Regions from separate parts of the Homo sapiens genome. Here region 1 is linked to region 2. Evidence: promoter capture Hi-C in 16 types of primary human blood cells and fetal thymus (Javierre and others, 2016). All regions are on one chromosome and are shown on one strand. The core of a region is centred on a gene start or on the middle of the fragment in contact, and the rest is flanking DNA. Distances in the headings are between cores, read along the strand shown. Region 1 overlaps STAG2 (STAG2 cohesin complex component). Region 2 holds the start of INTS6L (integrator complex subunit 6 like).

The links. The method cuts DNA at HindIII sites, captures the fragments that hold promoters and counts their contacts. A CHiCAGO score of 5 or more calls a contact.
Region 1: a contact is called between a fragment that was not itself captured here and the fragment with the promoter of INTS6L in region 2, in 1 of 17 cell types (M0 macrophages). The highest score is 8.0, in M0 macrophages.

The regions. Positions count from the first base shown.
Region 1 is chrX:123,964,798-123,968,533 of GRCh38, reverse strand. All of the region lies in intron 1 of STAG2 (STAG2 cohesin complex component), which reads right to left. Among named protein-coding and RNA genes, the nearest start is that of STAG2, 5.0 kb to the right of the region's middle. The HindIII fragment of the contact is 7,160 bases long and covers 1-3,736 here.
Region 2 is chrX:135,518,236-135,522,116 of GRCh38, reverse strand. INTS6L (integrator complex subunit 6 like) reads right to left here and starts at 1,457. Exons shown (of 18, transcript NM_001351601.3): 1 at 1,014-1,457; 2 at 799-876. The coding sequence starts at 1,124. INTS6L-AS1 (INTS6L antisense RNA 1) reads left to right here and starts at 1,443. Exons shown (of 2, transcript NR_046740.1): 1 at 1,443-1,550; 2 at 1,745-2,034. RefSeq lists silencers at 354-553, 614-883 and enhancers at 1,134-1,193, 1,224-1,303. The HindIII fragment of the contact is 2,771 bases long and covers 1-2,017 here.

The sequences.
Region 1 (3,736 bases), core at 731-3,230, about 12 Mb after region 2:
CTGCACAACCATACCCAGCTAATTGTTAAATTTTTTTGTAGAGATGGGGTCTCCCTACGTTGCCCAGGATGGTCTCAAACTCCTGGGCTCAACAGATCTTCCCACCTTGGCCTACCAAAGTGCTGGGATTCAGAGGGTGAGTCACCACGCCCAGCCAACTTATTTCTTACAAAGAAATTTTACCTTTGAATGGTCCCTTAAGTTAGGCAGAGCTTACTGAAATCTCCCTAGTTTGTCTCATCAAGCCTAGTAATGTATTTCCCAATTAAAATACAGTCATGTGCCATATAATGACATTTTAGTCCACAACAGACTGCATATAAGACGGTGGTCCCAGCTGGGTGTAGTGGCTCATGCCTGTAATCCCAGCACTTGGGGAGGCTGAGGCAGGCGGATCACGAGGTCAGGCGTTTGAGACCAGCCTGACCAATATGGTGAAAGCCCGTCTCTACCAAAAATACAAAGATTAGCCGGGTATGGTGGCATGCATCTGTAATCCCAGCTACTTGAGAGGCTAAGGCAGGAGAATCGCTTGAACTCAGGAGGCAGAGGTTGCAGTGAGCCAAGATCTCGCCACTGCACCCCAGCCTGAGCGACAGAGGGAGACTCCATCTAAAAAAAAAAAAAAGACAGTGGTCCCATAAGATTATAAGGGAGCTGCCCTATAGAGGTGTACTATTTTTTCTTTTATACCGTATTTTTATTGTATCTTTTTTGTTTTCAAACACAAATACTTACCACTGTATTATAACTGCCTACGATATTCAGTACAGCAACATGCTGTACAGGATTGTAGCCTAGGAGCAACAGGTCATACCATATGGCATAGATGTATAGTAGGCTATTCCATCTAGGTGTGTGTAGGTACACTGTATGATGCTCACACAACAAAATCACCTAAAGATGCATTTCTCAGAAGGTATGCCCGCCGTTAAGCAATGCATGACTGTAATAAAAAAGAATAGGCCAGCTGGGCGCAGTGGCTCACGCCTGTAATCCCAGAACTTTGGAAGGCCGAGGCAGGCAGATCACCTGAGGTCGGGAGTTCGAGACCAGCCTGACCAACATGGAAAAAACCCCGTCTCTACTAAAAGTACAAAATTAGCCCGGTGTGGTGGCACATGCCTGTAATCCCAGCTACTCGGGAGGCCGAGGCAGGAGAATCGCTTGAACCCAGTAGGTGGAGGTTGCAGTGAGCCAAGATCGCACCATTGCACTCTAGCCTGGGCAACAAGAGCAAAACTCCGTCTCAAAAAAAAAAAAAAAAAAAAAAAAAATACACCATTGACATTATTCATCCTCTCTTTCTTCGGCAGAAGGAATGGAAAACAATTTCAATAATCTCTTCTTGGCCAGGCACGGTGGCTCCGCCTGTAATCCCAGCACTTTGGGAGGCTGTGGTGGGTGGATCACCTGAGGTCAGGAGTTTGAGACCACCCTGACCAACATGGTGAAACTCTGTCTCTACTAAAAACACAAAAAATTAGCTGGGCGTGGTAGCGGACACCTGTAATCCCAGCTACTGGGAGGTTGAGGCAGGAGAATCACTTGAACCCGGGAGGCAAAGGTTGCAGGGAGCCCAAGATCATGCCACTGCACTCCAGCCTGGGCAACAAGAGCAAAACTCCGTCTCAAAAAATAAATAAATCTCTTCTTGACTTACTACAATAACCATATGTAAAGACTTCTTGGTGTCTACTGGTGAGTATCAAAGATCTATAGCAAGCACACATTAAAAACACAATTCAGGTAGCAGATTACCACAGCTGCTGAAGATGCATAGATTTTTAAAAGGCACATCAACAAAAATTAGACTCCACTAAGCAACACCACTTACACTGAAGAAATATAAAATTTGGGTAAATTAAACGTAAAGCAGTCAACTCAAGAGACTGAAAAATCAAACTGATAATTTTGCTTTATCATATATCTTTGCCAATCAGAACACGCAATAACCATCATTTATGATACCCAGAAACATAAAGAATTATTACACAGGGACAGTACTGAAACACGAACTAAAGTCCTGAACATGTAGCCAATGCAGAAAAATGTTAAGAACTTTTTTTTTTTTTAAACGGAGTCTCGCTGTCGCCCAGGCTACAGTGCAGTGGCGCGATCTCAGCTCACTGCAACCTCTGCCTCCCAGGTTCAAGCGATTCTCCTGCCTCAGCCTCCCAAGCAGCTGGGACTACAGACGCGCACCACCACGTCCAGCTAATTTTAGTATTTTTAGTAGAGATGGGGGTTTCACCATGTTGGCCAGGCTGGTCTTGAACTCCTGACCTCATGATCCGCCTGCCTCAGCCTTCCAAAGTGCTAGGATTACAGGCGTGAGCCATGGTGCCCAGCCAAAAACTTTTAAAATAGCCTATGTCTTTAAAGTTCCTTCCTTACTCTCCAACAATCACACTTCAGTATATACTGATGCCCATACCTGAAACTATCCCTCTCCCTCGCTATTCTCCCCAACTCCCAAAACGGTACTCCATTATATAGTAAACTGTACATTTTAGTTTATTTTTAATTTTTTTTTGAGACAGGGTCTTGCTCTGTTGCCCAGGCTGGGTGCAGTGGCGCAATCGTGGCTTACTGCAGCCTCTATGTACCGGGCTCAGGTGATCCTCCTGCCTCAGCCTCCCAAATAGCTGGGACCACAGGTGTGCACCACCACACCTAATTTTTAAATTATCTATAAACATGGGGTCTCCCTATGTTGCCCAGGCTGGTCTTGAACTCCTTGGGCTCAAGTGATCCCCCCACTTCAGCCTCTCAGCCTCCCAAAGTGTTGGTATTACAGGTGTGAGCCACTGTGCCCCGCCGATTTTGGTTTAAGTTCAAAAGTCAACTTGCAGCATCAAAAACTGAAGTCTGCCATCTATTATAAAGAACCCGAAGCAGAAAGATTATGCTATTCTCTGTTTACTACCTTCCCACATATGACTGTGGGTGGTATCAGTTAAACATGCACAATATTAAGCATTACTAAACTGCATATTTTCACATCTAACCCTAAATTCCCAAAGGAATAGATCTGAGCCTTAGCCTGTCCCCCAAGCCCATCCCATTCACTTTAATTCATAAGTCCTCAGGTGACCGCAGAAGTCAATACAGTTGAAAAAGAAATGTAGAATTTGATTTCATGAAAATCTTATTTGAGCATTTGGGCTTTAAAAAATCCTAACTAAATATACTTGAAAGTTACCAAACTCATCATGTGTTAGTGTAGTAGTTTAGCTATTGCCTCACCACAATAAAATAAATCTGATGCCACAATCCTTACCATCTACTAAGAATATTTGTATATGAATAAAAATTTGAAATATGTCACCTATTTTCCTTTAACATCCTTCTAAAGCTAAAATCCTGAATATGAAATACACAAACAGACTAATGGTAACAGTTACAAAATGTCTGTTCCCAGATTGGGGTGAAATTTTGCTATAAATTAAATATCCATTGTTTTGGATTCCTTTCGGAACTGTGACATGTATTTTTAAAATGTATCTCCTGGGGGAAAAAAATAAACCTGACACTGAACAGTATAGAACTGCCAAAAAAAAAAAAAAAAAAGGCACTTACCTTAATAGAATTTAGGAGCAGTTCACAAATGCACTAATTAAGGGAGACCAAGGATTGTCATTGCAACACATTTTTACTGTTTACGGGTAATGGTCAGAATGTTAACAGACAATATTGAAATATTTTACATATCAACTTCTAACTAGTTATAGCA
Region 2 (3,881 bases), core at 208-2,707:
GCTGAACCTGGCCAATTCCGGAGCAGAAACGCAAAGACTTTCTCCGGGTCTGGGGGTGGGGAGACTGGCGTCGCGGACAGATTTCCGATTGCGCGGGGGTGGTGAGAGGCCAACGAGTGCAAAGGCGGTTGTCTAGTCTTTGAAGGCCGGCGGCTGGCTCTGCCACGCTCTCAGCAGGAAGGGGAGGGGACCAGGAGGAAGAGGGGGAGAAGGAGGAGATGCAGCGAAGAGCCCAAGGAGGGGGAGGAAGACCGGGGGAGGAAGGAGGGGCCAGAGGAGGAGCCCAGGCTCCGGGAAAGCCCGCGCGCCCGGCCGGCAGGACCTCGGGGCGGAGTCGCAGGCTCCGTCCGGCCCCCCGCGCGGCGACCCTCGCGCGGTGCGCCTCGAAGGGGCGGGCCCGCCTCGCAGCCTCCCTCCGGGTTTCGGGCCCTCCTTCCCCGCTCCTCCCTCCCCTCCCTCCTTTCCATCTCAGCAGCGCCCTCAGTCTCCCTCTCGCAGGCTCATACAAAAGCAAAATGTCCGCCATGTTCCGAGGCGGCTGCGGTTGTCGCGCCACGAGCTCGGCCCTCCTGCGGTTTCTCCCCGGGGCTGCTCCTCCCCGGTCCCCTCTCCCCGACCCCAGGCGCGACAGCTACTCCGAAGCCGCCGACGGCACCACTCCGCCCGCCCTCTGCGCACCCCCTCGCCGCCCGCCCCGCCGGGCGACGCAGGACCGCCTTAGGCGGGGGCAGGGGGGTAAGCAGCCCCCGCCGACTTGCTCCCGCTTCCCGCCTGTCCCCCCACCCGTAGCCCCTTTACCTTGATGCAGTACGGGGGTTCGTCGTAGGTGACCAGCATGTACCTGTCTCCACGGCTGGCCGGGTCCCGGGCGCGCAGCTGCGGGGCAAGGGATGACGGAGGGGGTCGCGTAGGAAAGGAGGGGGGAGGGCGATACAAACGTTACAGAAGCACCTCAATCCACACCCTGAAATCCCTCGGGAGCTCTCCCCATCTCTCCCCTCCCCTCCCTTTACCTTCAAGAATAACTCCACAGCGCCTTTGGCAATGTCCAAATAAGAGGTGCCCAGGTCAGTGCGCTGGTTCATAGAGGCGGACGTGTCTATGAGGAACAGCAGGATGGGCATCTTCCCCCGCACTCCTGCCTCCGCTCCCCACTCTCCCGGCCCTCTTGCCCTCACTGCCGCGTACGGCCACCTGAACCCTCAACTCTCGCAGAGCCGGGGAGCAAGGAGCAAGAGGAAGAGGGGGAGACGGGACGGGACGGGACGGATGGGACCGCTCCTGGCCTCCTCTTTCTGCAGCCCCACCTCCTCTCCCTCCAAGGGAACTTGAAAGTGTGAGCGTGTGTAGCCCTCGGGGCCCTCCCCCTTCCTCTCTTCTGCTGCCACCACTACTGCCGCTGCCAGGACTACTGCCTAAGCATCCGTCCGCGCTCACTAGAGCGCTCGCCCCAGACTGAGCGCCGTCTCTGTTCACTGACAACTTCTGTCTGCTCACCTACCATCGGCACCATGTGACCAGAACCCATGCCATTGGCTGCCAATTATGTGGTATTTGCATATTCATTAGATGACAGGACTAGGGGAGGGACTTGGGCGAACCCTGGGAGTTGAAGTTTGAACCCAGGCAGAGGGTAAGGGGAAGTGTTACGGACCCTCGCTAGGATTCTCCTTTAAAGGACTTGGAAGCAGTTCGAATGATTAGTTCGGGTGGTTTAAATGGATTTTTCTGTCTCTCTTCAAAGATGGTGATTCGAAAAGAAGAGTGAATTTGAGCAACAGTTGTACAGAAGTACAGAAGCAGATGCTTGGACAGTTTGCACAGAAAATTCTTCGCTAACTGCAATCGATCAATCCTGCCAGTGGCGAAGACGAAAATATTTCAGAAGCAGCAAACTTCTTTCCTGGCAGGACGTACTCACATTCCTTTAGATCCCTCCCCCGTCTTGATCAGTATTTGTGAGTTGGTTGCTGGCCTTGCATTCCACATATATCTACTTAGAAAGGAAACTAAAGCTTAAACACAGTTACAGTTACCTAAACTGGCCTTTTGTATGCACAAGCTTCTTCAGTTTCACTAAGCTCTTTGAAACATTGGCCTGCCTGTGATAATTCCACCACTGTTCCCTCTGCGCAGCCTTTACACATGGAGGTTTGCAAACCTAGATTGTGATTCAACTCACATATTTATTTATTTATTTATTTTTATAAATAAATAAAGAGGATCTCGCTTGATCGCCCAGGCTGGAGTGCAGTGGCCCCATCATAGCTGCCTGCAGCGTCCAGCTCCTGGGCTTAAGCGATCCTCCCATCTCAGCCTCTCAAGTAGCTGGGACCACAGGGGCAGGCTCTCAACTCACATTTATTGAGTGCCTATGAAGAGCCAGGCACCCACGGTAGCCTTGTTTAATCTTTGAATTAATTATGGCAGATGGCATTGTATTCAATTTTCAGTAGAGGAAAATGCAGCTCCCTGAGGTTAGGGTAACAATTACGGATACTCTCAGGTCTGGCTCTGTGAAGAGACTCAGTAAGTGGCCAACCACACTTGATTGACTACTTCATATGACACAATTTTAAAAATTGGACTTGTGTATTCCTGGCAATTACTATTGACAATGTGGAATCCAGGACTTCAATGAGTTTGCAGTTTCATTGAGGAGAGATGATGACATATACATACATAATATTTTATATATTTTGGCCAGGCGCAGTGGCTCATGCCTGTAATTCCAGCACTTTGGGAGGCCGAGGTGGGTGGATCATTTGAGGGCAGGAGTTTGAGACCAGCCTGGCCAACATGGTGAAACCCCCGTCTCTACTAAAAATACAAAAATTAGCCGGGCATGGGAGCAGGCGCCTGTAGTCCCAGCTACTTGGGAGGCTGAGGCAGGAGAATCACTTCAACCCAGGAGACGGAGGTTGCAGTGAACTGAGATCACACCACTGCACTCCAGCCTGGGCAACAGAATGAGATAACATCTCAAAAAAGTATTTTATATATTTTATATACACTCTCTCTCTCTCTCTCTCTCTCTATATATATATGTATGTTCTGTGTATATGTTTCATATATTATATATGCACATTCAATAACATTCTCAGAGAAATACGATTTTAAAAGAAGTCATATGGCAGTATATGAATCAGGGACAAACAAGGATGCAAGTTAAAAAGTGCTATGGAAACAATGGTCCAGTCTAGAAATTCATAGGATTTCACGAACAAGGCACAAAAAGGGAAGAGAGGGAATCTGGGTTGGAAGGAATGATATGAACAAAAACTCAGCCAAAGATAGTACTATGTATGGTGCATTTCAGGCCATTCTGGTGGAAAGTAGGGAATTAATGAAGAAATAAGGATGAAAAAGATACTAGAAGCCCCCATTTCCATTCCGATACAAATGTCAGTGTAGAAGGGCAATGCCTACATGGGCTAGGGTACAAAAAATATAGGACTGTTGGGGGCAGTGTGTTAGTTTTCTACTGCTGTTTAACAAATTATTACAAATTTAGTGGCTTAAAACAACACAAGCATTTACTATCTCACAGTTTCCATGAGTCAGAGGTCTAAGTTTACCTGGGTTCTCTACTTAGTCTCATAAGTCTGCAGTCAACGTGTCAGCCAGGCTGTTTTCATCTGGAGGTTCACCTGGGAAAGAACTGGCTTCCAGGCTCATTCAGATTTCTGGCAGAATTCATTTCCTTGGGGCTGTTGCTGGTGACCAGAGGCCACCTTCAGGTCCACCTTCTGTTGCAGGTCTCTGCCATATGGCTTTCTCCATTGGCTGTTCACAACATAGCTGCTACTTCAGGGCCAGCAGAGAAATCTCTTACTCCAAGATGGAGCCTTATGTAATGTAGATAATCTCAACTAGAAGCA